7 separate regions of the Homo sapiens genome follow, and regions 2, 3, 4, 5, 6 and 7 are each linked to region 1. The links are contacts of gene promoters, found by promoter capture Hi-C in blood cells and fetal thymus (Javierre and others, 2016). All regions are on one chromosome and are shown on one strand. Each heading gives the region's core, a stretch centred on a gene start or on the middle of the fragment in contact. The rest is flanking DNA. Distances are from core to core; before and after follow the strand shown. Region 1 holds the start of NTRK3 (neurotrophic receptor tyrosine kinase 3). Region 2 has its middle 21 kb from the start of MIR548AP. Region 3 has its middle 39 kb from the start of MIR548AP. Region 4 has its middle 61 kb from the start of MIR548AP. Region 5 has its middle 79 kb from the start of MIR548AP. Region 6 overlaps AGBL1 (AGBL carboxypeptidase 1). Region 7 overlaps AGBL1 (AGBL carboxypeptidase 1).

Region 1 (2,675 bases), core at 52-2,551:
GCAGTCCCTATCTGTCACCTTCCCTGCCGGCTAAGCGCTGCCGCCGCTGCCACCGCCGCTGCCGCCTCTGCCAAAGAATCGAACCTCGTCTACTTTATTCCACTTGAGCGTGGCCAAACTGTTGCTATTTAGTGGGGAGCAAAAAAAAACAATTTGCACCATCGAAACGAGCCAGCAACTGGTTGGGAGGCGGGCGGTAGCTGGGCCCCGCGTGCCCTCGGCGGCCGGGGTCCTCTCCGGGGAGAGGCACACACACGCATAGCCGGATCGCGCCTCGCCAGGGCCGGAGTCACCTGGAATGCGCAGCCGGAGAGCATCTCCCGAGCCAGAGCGAGCCTGACGCGCGCCCAGCGGGCGGCGGGCAGCGGCGAGCTGGGGCGGGCGGAGGGCCGGCTCCCGGCCGCGGGTGGGCAGGAGGGAGACGCAGAGCGCGGGGGAGGCAGGCTGGGGAGCGGCCGCCTGACTTACATGGAAGTGATATTCCTTGAGATGTCCGTGATGTTGATACTGGCGTTCCCATTGCTGTTCCCTGAATCCTGCCCTTCCAGGAGGGGGAAGAGGTTCCCATCGTCCGGCCGCCGGCAATTGATCTCAGTCTTGCTGCAGACACAATTTGCAGGGCAAGCCAGCACGGAGCCCACATAGTCCAGCCAGACGCTTCCCAGCAAGAAAATCCGCCAGAAACTACACTTGGCTGGGCAAAGAGAGACATCCATCTCCGATCGCTGCTTCTAAAAAAGAGGAGGAGGAGAGGAGAGGGGGGTGGGGTGGGGGGAGTGGGGAGAGCAGGGGGGGAAGGAAACAAAGACGGCGAGGGAGGGGGGAAGGGGGAGGGGGGGCCTCTGCCTTTGAAACGCCGAGCGATCAGATGCAAAATCCTTCAGCGTCTGAAACCATCGCGGACGCCGCCGCCGCCGCCGCCGCCGCCGGGTGGGAGCCGCGAGGAGCGCCTAGTGGCGCGGTCTGCCGGGCATGGTGGCCGGCTCGGCGATCGCTGACTCGCCGGGTCCGGGGGCTCTGGAAGCGAGGCGCGCTCTCCGACTCCGAGACTTTGCAGGGTTGCAACAGACGGTGGGGAGGCAAAAAAAAAAAAGGAAAAGGAAAAAATGGTGCTAAAGTCACCAAGTCCCACCTACTGGGCAGAATTAAAACGGACACACCACGCACCTGCAAAACACACACACTCACTCTCACACATACACACACCCGGAGCCCGAGGAAAGGAAGAGAAGGAAGATGCAGTAGGAGCTGCAGCAGCCGCCGCGAATGGCTCGCCGCGCGGCTGCAGAAATGTACAAGTGCTCCGAGCCTTACGAAACGCACGGGTTATCGGAGCGTCTTCCTCGGCTCCCTCCCTCCCTTCCTCCCTCCCTCCTCCCCTCCCTCGTCGCGGCCTCCTCCCCCCGCCCCCCGCCCGGGCTGGGAGCGGCAGGAGAGCGGAATCTCCCCCTCCCTCCCCTCCCCACACCCGTCTCTCTCCCCGCCTGTCCTCTCCCTCCTCCCCACCCACCCACCCACCCACTCGCCGGCTCGCGGCTGTAGCCGGCACCGCCACCCGCAGCCTCGCGGCAGCCCGCCCGCTCCACGCCTCGCAGCGCGGCGCCCGCTAGCCGCAGCCCGGGGGAAACCGAGACCGAAGGGAAAAAGTTGCATTTGAGATTGCGAGGGTCGGGGCTGGGGAGGGAGAGTTGGCGAGCTGGCTGCACGACACGGAAAGGCGCTCTCCTTTCCACTTTTTGGCCCTCGCGCTACCCGGTTTTGCTGCAATCCGGACCGCGGTAGGAAGTGAAATGAACGTGGCGGAGGTGATTGGGGAGTGCTCCCAAGCCTTGGGTGGGGGGCGCTCCCAAGCCTGGGTGGGTGGGGGGCGCAGGCTCACGGACGGCGACGGGGGGTGCCGGAGCGCACAGACACCCCAGAGAAGCACCCAGAGCCGGGGACCGGGACCGCAGACGCGCAGTCCTTGGTCTGAATGACACTCATTTCCGTAATCTAGAGTCTGGGGCTCTGGTCTTGGCTGGGAGGGGACTGCGGGACATGGCACGCTAGGTGCCCCCCGTGCCCGCTGCGCTTTCTTGGAGGTGGGTTTTGCATTCGGCCTTGAGCAGGCATGGATCGGGGAAGGAAGAAACAGGGGTCGAAAGGGCTGCGCTGGAGAGCCGAGGTGGCCCCGGGCGAGCTGTGCGTGCAAGAGAAATGGCCGGGGGAAATTGAGATGCAAGGGGCATATTTTGGCAAGCGCCACGCCAGCACCGTCAGAGGCCGGCTTCTCGGGCTCAGCTCTCGGGTGAGCTGAGCTGGCTGCCGGGTGAGGGGGCGGGCGGGCTGCTTTCTCCGGATTCGGGGGCGCAGAACCTCCTCCTTCCCTCCCACACAAGCACCCCTTCCTGGTAGGGACGCAAAGCAGGTGCAGCTTTCGACGAGAGCTCAGATCTCATCCGGGAAAGAAGTGTGTGTGGGGGGGGCCCCGCTTTTGCGCTGGTAGGGATTTTTTTCTTAATAAAACATAAAGATGCCAAGTGTGAGCTGTTTGCTGAAAAAAAAAAAAACGAGCATTCGCTGTGGGAAAGGAGAAGAAAGGGTTAGGGGAGTCCGAGCAGGCAGACACACTACAGCATTCACACGCAGAAGAAAGCAGGGTTCTCCTTCCCGAGCTTGGAGGAGGGCAGGCGAGG
Region 2 (2,675 bases), core at 112-2,611, 2.4 Mb before region 1:
CTTGTGGAAGGAAAAGGACTGATATTCCAACCCCTGTCTGGAATTAAAAGATCAGGAAACCTGTAGGAGTATAGAACACTTGGTCCTGAGCAAGGCCCTATGAGAGGAAAGGACGCCAAGGGCCTTGGAGTACAAACTCACTGTGAGGGAAGGTGAGATGGTGACCCTTGGATTTGTGAGAAGACACGGAGCCGGCTCTGAATGTGGCTGTGGTTGGGGATCCAGGCATGTCCTGTGCTTTAGGCAGAGTTTGTGCCTATGAACTAGGAAGAATAACTTGAAGTTCCAGTGTAGAACACTACTCTTGATTGTACAGATCTGGGCCAGCAAGGGTCTTAGCTGGAAGGAGGCAAGGGGGCTTTGGGCTACGCTGGGACAGTGTTCAGAGTGATGGTACAGAAGCCACTGTGTGAATTGGCCAATTGAACTCATTGGTTTGCCTCTCTTTTCTTCCTTTCCTTTCTTTTTCTTTCTCCTCCTTCTACTTTCCTCTCTCTTCATCTGGTATTGGAAGGTAGAATTTTTGCCAAAGGTGCCAAGAACACTCATTGGGGAAAGGACAGTCTGTTCAATAAATGGTGCTGGGAAAACTGGGTATCCATATACAGAACACTGGAACTAGATCTTGATCTCTCACTATTTACAAAAATCAAATCAGAATGGATTAAAGACTTAAATGTAAGACCTGAAACTATGAAACTATTAGGCAAAAACATTGGGGAAATGCTCCAGGACATTGGTCTGGGTAAAGATTTCTTGAGTAAGACCTCACAAACACAGGAAACCAAAGCAAAGATGGACAAATGGGATCACATCAAACATAAAAGCTTCTGCACAAACGCAAAGAAAACAATCAGGAAAGTGAAGAGACAACCTACAAAAATGGGAGAATATATTTTCAAATTGTTCATCTGACAACAAATTAATAATCAGAATATAAGGAACTCAAACGACTCATATATTATTTTATGTATTATTTATATATTAATTGCTGAATACAATTTCTCAAATCAGTGGCGTTTATAATGTATGTAGATGTACCATAATGACAATAGTGGTAGAAAGGACTAGGCGAGGTTAATGAAACGATAATGTCGCAAGTGACTCAAAAGCCAATAGAGGAGTTAAAATAGAATACTAAAAAAGTTTGATTAACCCAAAGGACAGTAGAAAAGAAGGAACAGAGGAACAAAAAAGAGATAGGACAAATAGAAAACAAATAATAAAATGATAGACCAACATATCAACATTTGCATTAAATGTAAAAGGACAAAACATAACAATTAAAAGACAGAGATTATCAGGCTGAATAAAAAAGCAATTCCCGTCTTTATGCTCTATAAAGTGTGCCTATAAGGACACCCTTCTAATGTAAAGACACAGATAGTTTAAAAGTAAAAGAATGGAAAAGTACATACCATGAAAATAGTAAGTATAAGAAAGCTGGTGTGATTATAACAATATTAGACAAAATAGACCTCAAGGCAAGGAGTATTATGAGATACAATACAGATTATTTTATAATAATAAAAGAACCAAATCAGCAGGAACATACACCCCTTCTATATGCATATGTGACCAATGACAGAACTTCCAAATGTATGAAACACAAACTGAGAAGATTAAAGGGACAACTAGGCAAGTCAACGATCCTGGTTGAATATTTTTAACATCCCTTTTTCAGTAATTAATAGAACAATTAGACAAAGGCATCAGTAAGAATATAGAATATGTAAATACTATCAGTTACCTGGACCTAATTGCCATTTATAGGAGATTATACCCAAGAACAGAATACACATTCTTTTCAAATGCACCTGGAATATTTACCAAGTTAGACCATATGCTGGGTGATAAAATAAGTCTTAATAAAATTCAAAAGATTAGGAAAAAAAAAAAGCTTAACAGTGCAGGTTGCTGGACTGATATTTAAACAGCTCCCTGGGTCATGATCCCAAAGCTAATGTGGGAGAGCTCTATGACTGGAAATGGACATTTACAAGTCAGCAGATGATTCCGGCAGCATTTTGCATAGGAGATGAATGGACATCTGGATTCACAGAAGCTGGATTTGAAATAAATTCTCTATGTCGTCCAGCCTGTCTGTCTCAGTCCCTGAGAATATTTCTGGTAATCTATTTATCACTGATTTGAGAACAAAAGGGGATTAAACTGGCCTGACCCTCGAATTTTCAGCTCCAGACTTTCTGGTTCTTCAGCACCTGGGAAGAATATTAACTACTCATAGTAGAATGAATCACGTTGAGATACAATATTAAATAATGTGTTTTATTAAAGGAGCACACTGGGTTGTAAAATGTGACACTGAGTATTTCTCTACAAGCAGACTTGAAATCTTGCGATTCTTTCTAAACATGTAAAGCCTGTGATGGGTGCTCCAGATGATAACTAGCTCTATATTTCCCAGAGTAGTACCTTTCCAACCCAATCCTTACCCATTTTTCTTATTTTTCTGTGCTTTAATATTATTCCCATAATATGATCATATTATCATCAGAGTGACTATGAATAATGCTTTGGCTGTTTTATAATGAAGCTTCTCAACATGATTGATGCTGTGGAAACTGATCATTAAGCTTACTGGAAATGCATAGAAACAGCTCCTTAGAGTAACTGTAAAGAGGAATTTTATTCCAACACTTGAGCATCACATT
Region 3 (2,675 bases), core at 61-2,560, 2.4 Mb before region 1:
TAAAATTAAAAAAAAAAAAAAAGGCCTGTGTCTTTTTCAGTCAAACGTCTCTGCACAGGGTGGGGCCAAGCAACTGTGCCCATCCAAGCCTGAGCCGCACCACTCAGTGCCTGAAATCCCAGCCTAAGCCCACGTGGGTCTTTTCCCTGCACTACTGTGAGAACTTTGCTTTATCTCATGTCTAAGATAAACACCCAGGACATGTCTTGTAGAGATATACTCAGTCTCAGAAATGCTTGTGCCTACTCAAAGGGGGTGTGTTGGAAGGAGCCCTGGGAAGTGTCAGGCAGAGGTCTGATTGATTGTTGACTACCTACCCCATGCTTACCATATGTTTATGCCATTTTAGTCCTTAAAACAATGGTTCTCAAAGCATGGTAACCAGACCTGCAGCATCAGCGCTGCCTGGGAACTTATTAGAAATGCAGAGGTGGGAGGATCACTTGGGGTCAGGAGTTCAAGACCAGCCTGGCCAACATGGCAAAACCCCATCTCTGCTAAGAATACAAAAATTAGCTGGGCATGGTGGCATGTGCCGGTAGTCCTAGCTACTTGGGAGGCTGAGGCAGGAGAATTGCTTGAACACGGGAGGCAGAGGTTGCAGTGAGCCGAGATCTTGCCATTGCACTCCAGCCTGGGCAACACAGCCAGACTCTGTCTCAAAAAAAAAAAGAAATGCAGATGCTTGGGACCACCTGGGACCTGCTGAATCAGAGACTCTGGGGGAGGAGTCGGGGTAGAAATCTATGTTTTAACCCTTTAGATTATTCTGGGGCTTGCTCAAGTTTAAAACTGCTGCCTTAAAACATCCTCAGTCCTTAACATAATCCCCTATGTGTTATCACCACCATTCAGATAACAATCCCCAGGAGATGTCTAAGCTGCCCCAAGCAGAAAGTGGCACCTCAGTGCTGAAATGCAAACCCAAGTCCACCTAGCCTGAAAGTCCTCAGAGCTTCTTACCACATCCACCCTGCCTGCAAAGAAAATCTAGAAGCTAGTTTTTTTTCTGGCTCCTCCTCCCGCTCTCCTTCTAAGGTAGTCCACTCCCTCCTCTTTCTCACTGTCTCTGATCGTGACCCTCCCACACCTGCTTTCAAAGCTTTGTCTGTGAACCAATTAGAGGTTTGAAAAGCTGGTATCAGAAGTGCCCAGTATCATTTTTATGAGACTTCATGAATAAGAAAACAATGCCAACAAGTCAATATTGCGTGCAAATGTCAGTAAATTCCCACTCAATGGCTCCCTAGCCTGAATTTTGCAGAGTGAAATCGATGCAAGTTTTGTCAGGCCTGCTGACTTTAAAGGCGGAGGACCCTGTGCATCCAGAGAACCCACTGAAGGATGTAGGCTGCATCGTCACTCACTCTGGAAGGAAGTTAACAAAAGTACTTACACCTTTAACCTCCAGGGCATTCCTTCCCAGGCTGTGGAGGGGGGCTCCTTAGCCTGCAGTGACCTGGAATATGTTTCCAACTTTGCAGAAGTGCTGAGATCCACAAGATGGCAGCAGCCGCTCAAGCTTCGCACAGGGTCCCTGCTGCTTTTGTAATTCCCAAATTAAAAACCAAACCAAACCAAACCAAACGTACATCTGCAATCTGGAAGACGCCAGGAAAGATCATTCATTCTAGGCCTGCCCCCTTTACATCCAGAACTGTCCACATCAGAATCAATGTGAGCAAACTGCTTATAAAGGTCTTAGGGAAAAGGAATCTCAATTGTTGACTCAATTGATTCATTTATTTATTTACTTCTTTTTCCATCCTCCCAACTTTTCACTCTGAAAAGTTTCAAACCTATAGAAAAGCTGGAAGATGAACATCTTCTTGGTCTTCACTGGGATTCATCAAATTATCACATTTAGCCACATTTATTTCATCTTTCTCTCTCTTCCTCTGGATGAAAGCTTTGATAGTTGCAGACACCCTGACACTTTACCTCTCAATAATTCAACACGTCTTCTAAGAATAAAGACATTTCTTTATATAACCACAACATCACCATATCCAAGAACCTTAACATTGATACATTACTTAATTTATAATCACATTTAAATTGCCCCAACGGTCCCAGCAATGTTCTTTACAATAATTTTCTTTCTTTCCCTTCCTTCCTTCCTTCATTCCTTCCTTCCTTCCTTCCTTCCTTCCTTCCTTTCTTTCTCTCTGTCTTTCTTTCCTTCCTTCTTTGAGATGGAGTCTCACTCTGTGGCAGAGGCTGGAGTGCAGTGGTGTGATCTCAGCTCACTGCAGCCTCTACCTCCCAAGTAGCAGGGATTACAGGCGTGTGCCACCACACCTGGCTAATTTTTTTGTATTTGTAGTACAGATGGGGTTTCACCATGTCAGCTAGGCTGTTCTTGAACTCCTGACCTCCAATGATCCGACTGCCGCGGCCTCCCAAAGTGCTGGGATTACAGGTGTGAGCCACCTCGCCTGGCCTATAGTAATTTTCAATCCCCTGCTACAGAGTCCATTTGAGTATCACACCCTCATGTAGTTGTCATGTCACCTTTTTTGTAGAGCTCTCCTCCTCCGCTTTTGATCTTTTATGACATTGACATTTCTCAACAGTCCGGTTCATGTGTTTTGTAGAATGCCCAGCACTCTGGATTTGTCTTACTGATTCTGGATTATTAATCCAGGTTAAGTATCTTGGCAAGAATACTACCA
Region 4 (2,675 bases), core at 108-2,607, 2.4 Mb before region 1:
CTTGCTCTGGGTCTCTTCAGCCTCTTGAACCTGATGCCTTCTCTATTGAGGTTTACAGGGGTTCAGCACAATAGGGAGGGGAAGGTGTCAGAGCATTCTGGTGGGTTCTGGGGCTTTTAAGAATAGAGATGCTGCTACTCAGTTGGAAATGATTTGTATTTCTTTGATTGGAGCCCCTTTCCCTAGTGGCTTCATGAAAGTGTACTACCTTCAAAATCCTAGTGGGATATATTTCATAAAACAGTAACCACAGATGTGCTGGGTCCCATATCCAGGTTGATGCCATGGGGCAAGGGACTCCCTGTGAGGATGGGTGAGGTTGTCCATCTGCTGACTTGATTCAGCTGCAGAACTTGAATCTAGAAGGGACCCTGAAATAAGCTTTTTAAGAACACCCAGAAGTCATGGGGGAGGATCCTGGGTTTCCGCAGGTCAAGGAGTGAAGTTCTAGCTGGTAGTATCTGGTCCTTAAGTGTGGAGAGACCTCAGCTGGTGGCTGGATTACAGATCTGGGCTGTTCTGTTTTCTTCTGGGGTTTGGCTTGATTGTATATGGTGTACCAATTTGGAACGGCCACTACTCAATGCAGTGACCTCCAACCAGCTGAGCTCTGAAACTTGGGAATTCCTGGGCTGGCAAGGGAAGCCTGGATTCTGGGTCTGCTGTCTGTGGGTAAGAGTGTCAGGAGGCTGGAGCAGCAGGAGACGGTGCTGGCTGGCGCCGGTGTTCTGGGTCTTCCTTCCAAGCTGCAATCAGGATTCCTTTCCTGAGATTCCTCCGAATTGCCTGTCTCCAAAATGCATAAGATGTTTCTGAAATCAGTGCTTCTCAAACTTTAATGCGTACCAGTGTCACCTGGATGGCTCATTAGAACCACGTGCTGAGCCCCTTCCCCAGAGGTCTGGAAGTGAGGCCTGACAATTTGCATTTCTAACAAGTTCTCAGGTGATGCTGATGCTGCTGGTCTGGAAACCACACTGAGAATCCCTGTCCTAGACCAGCATTTCTCACTTTACTGTGCACAGGAATTACTTGGGTTTCTTATTAAAATGCAGGTTCTAATTCAGTAGGTTTGGGGTGAGACCTGAGAATTAGCATTTTGACCAGCTCCCAGGTAAAGCTGATGTATAAGGACCACCCTTTGAGTAGCACCACCCCCAGTCATGCTGCCTTTAGCCTCTGACTGGCTGAAGGTCAAATGTTTCTACTCCCCTAAGAATAAGTACTTCTGGCTGGACACAGTGGCTCATGCCTGTAATCCCAGCACTTTGGGAGGCTGAGGCAGGCAGATTGAGGTCAGGAGTTCGAAGCCAGCCTGGCCAATGTGGTGAAACCCCGTCTCTACTAAAAATACAAAAAAATTAGCTGGGCATGGTGGTGGGTGCCTGTAATCCCAGCTACTTGGGAGGCTAAGGCGGCAGAACTGCTTGAACTAGGGAGGCGAAGGTTGCAGTGAGCCGAGGTTGTGCCGCAGCACTTCAGTCTGGGCAACAGAGAGACTCTGTCTCAAGTGAAGAATAAGTACTTTCATCCCAGCTGCTATTCTCAACTGCTTTGCAAGGGCGTGGTTGTCTCTTGGTCTGTGTGTATCTGCAATTCCCTGCTCAGTCTACCCCACACCACATCCCTGCTAGAAGCTGAGCTGCCCAGTCATCTGTGGGAGCACCTGTTCATCCCAACACAGTGCCACTGGGACAGTTAAGCCTCGCCAGGCTCTGGCTCTCGCTGGCTGCTGGGCAGGCGTTCCTTCGTGTTCCCCAGGGCCCACTTTGCCCTCTCGATGCTGGCAGTGGCTGTCCCAAGTGCCAGCTGTTCTTTTGCCCTTGAAATCAGCCCTGTCCGGCTTCTGTCCTGGCTTCCCTGATGTCCCTGACCATTCCCAAATGACTGTATCCTGCAAAAATGAGTCTGCTATAAACTGGGCTGGCAGCTGCTCTGGCAGACGGGCAGGAGGAACTTGGAGACTGTTCAAAATAAGGAGGAGTTGAAAATTAGGAACCATAGGGAGATGGAAAGAGGAACGGGAGTTAATTTAATGCCTTAAGTGTAATACACTTTATATGAATTTATGCAGAATTTACATAAAAAAATCAACCTAATATGTAGCACAAAGGCATTAGGGAAGGTTTCTTGTAGGATGAGACAGTAGAAAGGGAAGTGGGTTGGGATTCAGGAGAACCGAGTTCTAATCATATTCCCACATTAGTCAAGAATCCACAGGCCTCAGTGTTCTCTTGCATAAGAAGGTTTGGATTAAACCACCTTTGAGCTACTGCATGTCTAAAAACCTCACTTATTATTAGAGGGATTATCAAGGAAGGCTGGGGAAATCTTTAAGCTTTGGAATTAAAAAACCTGAATTTAGGCTGGATGTGGTGACTTGTGCCTGTAATCCCTGCACTTTGGGAGGCTGAGGCAGGAGGATCTCTTGAACCCAGGAGTTTGAGACCAGCCCGGGTGACATAGCAGGGCCCCATCTGTACAATAAGAAAATTAGTTGGTCACAGTGGCACATGTCCGACTACTTGGGAGGCTGGGGTGGGAGGATTGCTTGAGCCCAGGAATTTGAGGCTACAGGGAGGGGTTATTGTACCACCACACTCCAGCCTGGGCAATAGAGTGGGACTCTGTCTCAAAAAAAAAAAAAAAATCCTGAAGTTAAATCCTGGCATCTC
Region 5 (2,675 bases), core at 48-2,547, 2.4 Mb before region 1:
TATGAACGTTTGGAAGTTGGTACTCTTAAAACATTTTACAAACCAGAAAGAGATGTTACTGCAGTAGTTAAATTAATGAATTGGTTTATCTTGAAGTATTACCTGGAAACCCTTCAGTGATATTGATGTTTCCCATTCCCTCTGTTAGCCTGGACTTTTTCTATGGCTTATTTTTTTCTATAGTTCTCTAGATTTTTCTATGAGGCACTTGACTGCCACAGCCAGGAAACTCTTAAGAATCTAATTTTCTGCTCTTCCTCCTCTGTAACTAAAGACTGGATCAGTTAGGACTGGGTTTCACTATCACATCTTGTAGGTGACCATGACTATTCGAGAAATGACCTCTTCATTTGCCTGCTTCTACCAAAAAAAAAAAAATTGGAACCACTAGATTGGATAAATTCTACATGATGAATATCTTAGCCAATTCTTACTGAGGGTTGGGGATCTGGGTGAGGTAAATCCTTCATCATTAAAGGTGACACCTTGGTAGTCCACCCCAACATCACCTTTCCAAAAATGAGCCTTCTGGAATCTACCTGAGAGTCGGGAAATATTGAACTAAGCCAGATGTCACTGACAGGTACATCCAGGACAACAGTTTGGGGCAATTTAATGAAGGGGCAAATAACCCACTACAATTCACCAAGTCCTTAGGCCTTCGGTAAATAATTTTTGATGCTCATAGTGATGACTGAATGACCAGTGTTGGATAAATGCATTCTATGAGGGCAGAGAAACATTTAAGCTAAATAAAACATTTTTGTGATTTAAAGAAATTACCTTCAGCTATCTGGAAAACTTGGCTATCTGACGATGATTCATTTTCTGGTGATTTCAACTAACCAAAGTTTTATTCTACTGTGCTTTTGGAAAAAAAAACAGGACCGGGCATGGTGGCTCATGCCTGTAATCCCAGCACTTTGGAAGGCCGAGGTGAGTGGATCACTTGAGGTGAGGAGTTCAAGACCAGACTGGCCAACATGGTGAAACCCCATCTCTACTAAAAATACAAAAATTAGCTGGGCGTAGTTATGGGCACCTGTAATCTCAGCTACCTGGGAGGCTGAGGCAGGAGAATTGCTTGAACCCAGAAGCAGAGGTTGCAGTGAGTCAAGATCGTGCCATTGCACTCCAGCCTGGGCAACAAGAGCAAAACTCCATGTCAAAAAAAAAAAAAAAAAAAAAATCTGTTTCACTGGCAGAGAAAACTCTGGACCCCATGGACTAGTCTCACCTGGTGTGACATTTCTTCTGTGCTTTTGACAATTTTCATAGCATGTTGATTCTTCATCTCATTCTCAGACATCAGTTAATTAGCTAATCTGGATTTTGATTCACACGTATTAAATACCATCTTTTCTGAGCACACAAAATCCCCCTTATGTGAAATAAATGGCATTATGTCCAAAAGAATGGTGTTAGATCGTCTTTTACTTTGGGGAAAAAAGGAGGTAATTAGTTTGATCTATATTTTTTCATTTGCGAATGTTAATGCCATTTTCACTTCTGAAGGAAAGGTGAATGGCTGTGCCCAGTCACTGAGTCTGGTTTTTGTGGCTCTGACATTATATAAAGGAGTTTGGGGAAATGGAATGGAATTAAAAGGGCCTCAGTTGAATATGTGGGTAAGTAGTGTTCTTAATACTTCAACAAAATTTCAAAGAGTTTGTAATTCATATAGCTTTTCTGAAAGGCTGCCAAGAGGGAGATTTTCAATAGATTGGTGGAATGAGGAATTAAATGCAGATTATTCTGGAAAAGACTAGAATTTAATACAACATTTGAACAGGTTAAATTTATATCAATAAAATACCAGGTGGAGAATGGGACCATTTAATTTCCAGCACACAGAAGACACAACATTTGTAGAAACGATGAACGCAGTGTGGGCTGCTGTTTCCGGCTTCTGTGTTCATTTTCAAAAGCAGCCTGGGAAATTTATGCCGCTCTTTGGAATTTGAGGTAGTGGTAAAGTTGCAGTCAGATGTGATGGATTGTGCAGCCAATTTCTTGAAGTTTGTGGTTCATTAATCCAGCATTTTGAATTTCAAAGGACTGAAGTGATGTCATTTGGGATGTACATCACAGAAAATTAATGGGGTTTCTTGGTCAGAAGTGAATGCTGACACAATGCGACAGGGAAAAAGGGATTGGTGTTGCTAATGGCTGGGGAGCGGGAAGGCCTTGGTTTCCAGTGGGAAAGGCTGCCTTGCCATTCAGAGCCTGCCCAGCCCCCCGCAGGCTCTGAGGGAGTCTTTTCTATGGGTCAGTCCTGCTCCGTCGTGAGAAAACACAAAGTATTGCTTATTCAAGTGTTTCCCAAGAATTCAGCAGTATCTGAAACAGAAGTTTTCATCTATTTAATTCAGTACGGCAGACCTGCGTTGCTCCTTGTGACTCCAGTCCCTGGTCTACCATCCTGTCTGGGAGGTGCTGGCAGGGCTGGGCTGAGATGAGTGGGAGCCCTGCCCATCAGGATGCTGTGTGGATATTGGATGTTTCCCATGCTGGCCTGTGCTGTGAGGCCCAAGGCAGAGTGGTAGAAGAGAGACTGAATCATTGTCAAAGACGCAGGCTGGGAAAGTAGGCTCGGAGGAGGTCCCCGGACAGATCCAATGAAAAAAATGAATGGGAACGGAATGGGGCTTTAGGAAGCTTCCACTCTGCCAGTC
Region 6 (2,675 bases), core at 128-2,627, 2.0 Mb before region 1:
ATGAGAAAAGAGGAAAAAAGGATGAATGTACCTAACAGAGGACTAGGGGTCAAGGGAGTCTTTCTACAGGAAATGACACCTAAGTTAGGATGTAAAGGATAAAGTATGAGATACAGGTAAAGAAGGGGAGAAAGGCCCAGGGCATTTTAGGCTGCAGCATTAGCAAGGTCAAAGGACAAGCCATGGGTACATGCTCTAGGTCTTGGAAAAAGAACAGTGGGGCAGAGGTATAGAAAGCAAGAGAAAGTGGTGTGGGACAAAGCTGGAGAGGGTGGCATCTGCCAGATTCAGTAGGGCCTCCTGGTCCATGTTTCAGATTTGGATTTTTTATCCAGAGCAAGAGTGGATGTGGGGTAGCAATGTGAGGGTGCTCAAATCTGAGCCTCTGATTGAGAAGACCACTCTAGTTGCAGACTGGAGAACAGCTTGAAGGAGATACAGAGTGGATATGGATAGATTAGTTTTGGGGCTATAGCAGTAGTTGGGTGAGAGATATTTGGGTGATTTTAATTTATTTCATTTCTTTTTGCTTAATTATATTTTCTAATATACCTAAGGAATAACCTAGGAAGTTAAAATATATGTTCCAACCAAGGACCAATAGCTCTAGAAATTACATTTCTCATTAAAGTACCAGACCCTCACATGCTTAGGCTAGGGTGACAACAGCAGAGATCAAAAGGAATGGACAACTTAAGAGCTCTCTAGAAGTTACAAAGTGGTGTTTGAGGAAATGATGGAGATCTAGGTGGAAAGGGCAGGTGGTGTTAAGGGTGCATGTTCAACTTCTGGGAAGATAGTATTTCCACTCTCTGAAAAGGGGACGTCTGGGGAGGGTCAAGTCTTGGTGAAGTGAATGTTAGGTTGCTGGTATCTGGATGCTAAACATTGCAAGAAGCTTTGGGTGGGGGACAGACTCTCAGGTGGCCCCCTGCCATGATCCTCACCTCCTGTTGTTTATACCTTTATGTTATTTCCTGCCTTTGAGGATGGGAAAGAGCTGAAACTTGTTTTTAACCCACAGAATATGGCAAGGTAAGGACATGTCATCCCTGGTCACCCCTGTGATTATATTACATAATTGTGTTATAAGAGGTCATTGCATATGTACTCTCTATAGAAACTTTCCTCATTGATGAAGTAAGCAGTAATGTTGGGGAAACCCCCATTGCAAAGAACAGTTGGTGGCTTGTAGAAACTGCAGGTAGCCTCTAGAAATGCAGAGTGGTCTTACTGTCTGTTGATACAGCAAGCCGGCAGTGTCCTTGGCCTTGGCACTGCAAGGAAAGGTATTTTACCAAGAACCTGTTTGAGTTGGGAAACATCCTTCCCCAGTTGAGCCTCAAGATGAAGACTCAGCCCTGGCTGATGCCTTGATTGCAGCCTTGTCAGACCGTAAGCAGAGGATCCACCTAAGTGGATTCCTGCCCCATATAAACTGTGAGATAATACATGAATATTGCTTCAAGCTGCTACAATTGTGGTAACATTACACTGCAATTGATAACTAATATGGGTGGCATTGCTATATCTAGGCCATCTGTGCCACAGAATATCTGACTTCCAAGAGATAGTTTGGTCCTATGTTTCCTCCATGTACCCAGGGATAGGAGCACATTTTTTCTCCAGTGACCTCTCCTGACTGGTGAATGATGACCCTGCAGGCTCACTGCCTGCAAACACATATACAGAGATAAACCCACTTCCTCACTTGGTACCCATTCCACCTTCCATGATCCAAGAATGACATTCAAGTTATTAGGTTGGTCCAAATGTAATTGTGGTTTTTGCCATTACTTTTAATGGCAAAAATTACGTTTGGACCAACCTAATAATATTACATTTCAGGGGCTCTAGTAAGCTTTTTAACGTAATTTAATTTAAATTTTACTTTATCTCACTCTTCACACCATCCCATCAGTTAGATCTTATACCCACTTTATAAATGAGAAAGGCTATGAGATTCAGAGAGATCAAGTAAACCCAGAACCCAGAAGCAGAAAAGTGGCTGCTCCAAGCTTCAAACCCAAGCCCTCTAATTCCTAATTTAGCAACTCAGTCCTGCCACTCAAAGATGCCTGTGACTTGCTTCTCCTTGAGTTCTTTGTCTTTGTCTCCATGACCACCATTGAACATCTAAACCCGCTTAAGCTGTACCACACTGTGCTATGTAGAATCTTGAATCAAACAGTGGACTCAAGCTGGACAAGTTGTTTGCCTCATTGGCTCTGTGATGTATGAATCCTCTGACCTTGCACCAGTCATCTAACCTTTTGATCTCCACAATCCTTATTTGAAAGATAAAAATATTGCACAGAGAGATATTTTAGATTCTTTCTAGAATTATGTTAAAAGTAGAGAGAAGACTTTAGGATCACTAGATTTAAATTCACCCAGAGGTAGACTTATAGCTAATGCTGCCTCTTTTTTTTTTTTTTTTTTTTTTTTTAGATGGAGTTTCACTCTGTTGCCCGGGCTGGAGTGCAGTGGCACAATCTTGGTTCACTGCAACCTCTACTGCCTGGGTTCAAGCAATTCTCCTGCCTCAGCCTCACAAGTAACTGGGATTACAGGGGCCTGCCACCATGCCCAGCTAATTTTTTGTAGTTTTTAGTAGAGATGGGGTTTCACTATCTTGGCCAGGCTGGCGTTGAACTCTTCACCTTGTGATCCAC
Region 7 (2,675 bases), core at 100-2,599, 2.0 Mb before region 1:
GCCAGCCCAGCTCTAAAAGCCGGGCCTTTCCTGCTAGACAAGAAACGTTCTGGAGCTACTTTAAAAGAAACAAAAACTTCCCAAGGACCCTCTTTCCTCTGTATCTGCCTAAAATAATTTCTTAATAACTCCTATAACAATAGTGACACACTATTGGCTGACATAAGGCTGAAGGGTGGCAGGCTCAGGGGTGCAGAAGCATTTGCTATTTGCCTCTTCCTCATACACTCAGGGCCTAGAGGCACAATGCAGTGTGAACCGATTCATGAGCGATGCTTGCAACGCAGGGCAGAATTGCTTTCCTGCTGTCTATGTTGGTTGTCTGTACTCTGGCCAGAAGCAGGCAGCATCACTGGTGGACAGACGGGTGCCTTAAATATCAAGTTGGGGAGAAAGGAAGGTGAGGGAAGGTCTCTGATTTTCTTCTTCTTGATGTAAATCCTGGCTTTCTTCTTTAAGTGTCATCCTCTGATGAGTTGACAGTGGACACAGCAAAGTCAAACCAGGTGGAAGATTTTCTAGACCTGGAAGGGATAATGGCTTGTCTTGGGGTTTAGCAAGTACTTCCTTCCCCACCCACAGTCTAGACTCAAAATAAAAATTTGGATGGATAAAAAAACTCCTATACAAATTTCTAGGCCTATTTCTAAGACAATTATTCTGAAGGGTCTTCTTGCAGAGATGCAAAAACAACAGAAAGGCGAGTGAGAAATTCTCAGCCTGACAGATTCCCCCGCTTTTGCACAACCTGTTGGGATGAGTCTCAAAATGGTGGGGGGTCACACATCCTGATCCCTGCTCACCTTTCCCGTCATCTGCTACTACTGTCCCCTTGCTTTCTTCACCTGGCTTTAGCTCCTGGACTTTTCATTATTTGTACTTACCAAGTTTTTGCTTTATCCACTTGCTGTGTGCCCTTGAGGTTTGAAGAATTTCCTATCCCCAGATCTCTGCATCCTGGTTCCTTCTTGTCGCTCATGCCTCAGCTCCAATGCCCCCTCCTCAAGGGTCTTCCCTGATCATCCAACCTAAAGCAGCCACCCTACCTCATCACTCTAGTGCCACTGTTTTGTTTTCTCTGTATCACTTGTCTCTATGTGAAATTGCCTTGTTTAGTTTTCTTTGTGTGTGCCTATTTGGTATCTGCCTCCCCCTGCCACTCCTGTGGGACTGCAAACCCCATAAGAGGTGAGGCTTTCTCTATTTCATTTTCTGCTGCATCTCTGTTGTCAATAATAGTGCCTGGAACAACTGGTATATCGTAGTTGCTAAATAAATGTTTGCTGAATGGATTAAGGGTGGTACCTTGGGTTTTGGGTGTGTGAACATGGTTTTAGTTTATAATTTACTCTCTGCCTAGCCATAGGGAGAATCTGGCTTTCCGGACAAAGGCCTGTATGTTTATTTGCATCTAAGAAGCAAACCTCCCAAGAGTCTACCATGTTAGAGAATTTTCAAACTAGCAATATTGAAAAATCAACCATATTTTCTCAAATCTAAGTCTATCATCAACTGTGAGGTGTATGCCATTTTTTATGTGCCACTGAGTGAGAAAATGCTGTCAGTTACAATGAAAACATCACCCTTGGTAAGAAGCACCTTAATTTCAGAAATGCTAAAATGTGGATAAACATATGCCTGAGGATTGATAAAGTATGTGAGATAGACTCCTCATATGGAATGTAGAATGTTGACTCAGAAGAGTTTCGAGTCTTGTGGCGCCTTCTATGTTTATTTTTCAAATTTATTTTTTATTTTTATTTTTTTGTAGAGATGGGGGTCTCACTCTGTTGTCCAGGCTGGTCTTGAACTCCTGGCTCAAGCAATGCTTCTGCCTTGGCCTCCCAAAGTGCTGGAATTACAGGCATGCCCCTTTCTCTTCATAGGTGCAGCATTGCAACCTAAGGTCCTTCATTAGACATTGTATGTGCTGAGGGTGGGGGAAGAGCAGAGATGTGTGAGGAAGAGAAAGGTGTGGATTCTGAGGCTTTACTGAAAGTAGAGAAATTCCTGTGGTTTGGGACTAGTTCTGTGGCAAGTTATTAGAAGGAGTTGAGGATTTATAAAAAGATAGATTCATCTAGATTTAAAACAGTGGTCTGAAGTGTAGTCTCTTACCTGTCCCGGTTTCTGGAGCTTCGGAAAAGCATCTTTAATTTTATAAAGGCAGTCAATTGAGAAAACAAGATTTGCTTGAAACCAAAATTTACTTTATAGCCAAGTTTATTGAAATGTATCTATTTTACAAAGAGAAAAAAAGTACCCGAAAGCTAATTCAAAACCATCATTCTTATTTGAGAAATGATAATCAAGTATAATTTCCATTATGGATGGCATTAGGTTTCCTTATGCTTTTGTACATATCCTTATGCTTTTGGCTGTTCTCCTTTGCACCAGCCACTCCTGCAGCTGCAGGGCAGGAGGAGGTGGCAGTTGATTCCACCTCTCTTCAATGGTGCCGCACTCACACCTGGGCCTGACATTGCTGGGCCGGCCTCACTGTGTCATTGGCTGGATGTAAAGAAGTCCCCAAAACATCTTCTCCAGGGACTCAAAGAACCATAGGCTATTTATTTGGGTCTTTAAACCTTTTCAAGTTTCCTACGAAAAACCAACTCTTACCACAATTTAGGGCCCTGAGAGGGAACAGAGAAGTTGGAGGAGGGGGATTGGCT

The links. The method cuts DNA at HindIII sites, captures the fragments that hold promoters and counts their contacts. A CHiCAGO score of 5 or more calls a contact.
Region 2: a fragment that was not itself captured here is called in contact with the fragment with the promoter of NTRK3 in region 1 in 4 of 17 cell types (endothelial precursors, M0 macrophages, M1 macrophages and 1 more); the score reaches 18.2 in endothelial precursors.
Region 3: a fragment that was not itself captured here is called in contact with the fragment with the promoter of NTRK3 in region 1 in 15 of 17 cell types (M0 macrophages, endothelial precursors, non-activated CD4 T cells and 12 more); the score reaches 32.1 in M0 macrophages.
Region 4: a fragment that was not itself captured here is called in contact with the fragment with the promoter of NTRK3 in region 1 in 2 of 17 cell types (M0 macrophages and endothelial precursors); the score reaches 7.5 in M0 macrophages.
Region 5: a contact is called between a fragment that was not itself captured here and the fragment with the promoter of NTRK3 in region 1, in 3 of 17 cell types (naive CD8 T cells, M0 macrophages and endothelial precursors). The highest score is 6.8, in naive CD8 T cells.
Region 6: a fragment that was not itself captured here is called in contact with the fragment with the promoter of NTRK3 in region 1 in 1 of 17 cell types (naive CD4 T cells); the score reaches 5.2 in naive CD4 T cells.
Region 7: a fragment that was not itself captured here is called in contact with the fragment with the promoter of NTRK3 in region 1 in 2 of 17 cell types (activated CD4 T cells and naive CD8 T cells); the score reaches 6.6 in activated CD4 T cells.

Annotation. Positions count from the first base shown.
Region 1 is chr15:88,255,438-88,258,112 of GRCh38, forward strand. NTRK3 (neurotrophic receptor tyrosine kinase 3) reads right to left here and starts at 1,302. Exons shown (of 20, transcript NM_001012338.3): 1 at 1,207-1,302; 2 at 847-1,049; 3 at 469-731. The coding sequence starts at 716. All of the region lies in intron 1 of NTRK3-AS1 (NTRK3 antisense RNA 1), which reads left to right. RefSeq lists an enhancer at 1-520. The HindIII fragment of the contact is 4,913 bases long and covers 1-2,675 here.
Region 2 is chr15:85,845,213-85,847,887 of GRCh38, forward strand. No RefSeq gene overlaps it. Among named protein-coding and RNA genes, the nearest start is that of MIR548AP, 21 kb to the left of the region's middle. The HindIII fragment of the contact is 1,073 bases long and covers 826-1,898 here.
Region 3 is chr15:85,863,783-85,866,457 of GRCh38, forward strand. No RefSeq gene overlaps it. Among named protein-coding and RNA genes, the nearest start is that of MIR548AP, 39 kb to the left of the region's middle. The HindIII fragment of the contact is 420 bases long and covers 1,101-1,520 here.
Region 4 is chr15:85,884,813-85,887,487 of GRCh38, forward strand. No RefSeq gene overlaps it. Among named protein-coding and RNA genes, the nearest start is that of MIR548AP, 61 kb to the left of the region's middle. The HindIII fragment of the contact is 1,957 bases long and covers 380-2,336 here.
Region 5 is chr15:85,903,756-85,906,430 of GRCh38, forward strand. No RefSeq gene overlaps it. Among named protein-coding and RNA genes, the nearest start is that of MIR548AP, 79 kb to the left of the region's middle. The HindIII fragment of the contact is 2,718 bases long and covers 1-2,656 here.
Region 6 is chr15:86,217,522-86,220,196 of GRCh38, forward strand. All of the region lies in intron 5 of AGBL1 (AGBL carboxypeptidase 1), which reads left to right. Among named protein-coding and RNA genes, the nearest start is that of AGBL1-AS1, 98 kb to the right of the region's middle. The HindIII fragment of the contact is 963 bases long and covers 897-1,859 here.
Region 7 is chr15:86,237,068-86,239,742 of GRCh38, forward strand. All of the region lies in intron 6 of AGBL1 (AGBL carboxypeptidase 1), which reads left to right. Among named protein-coding and RNA genes, the nearest start is that of AGBL1-AS1, 79 kb to the right of the region's middle. RefSeq lists an enhancer at 1-738. The HindIII fragment of the contact is 6,883 bases long and covers 1-2,675 here.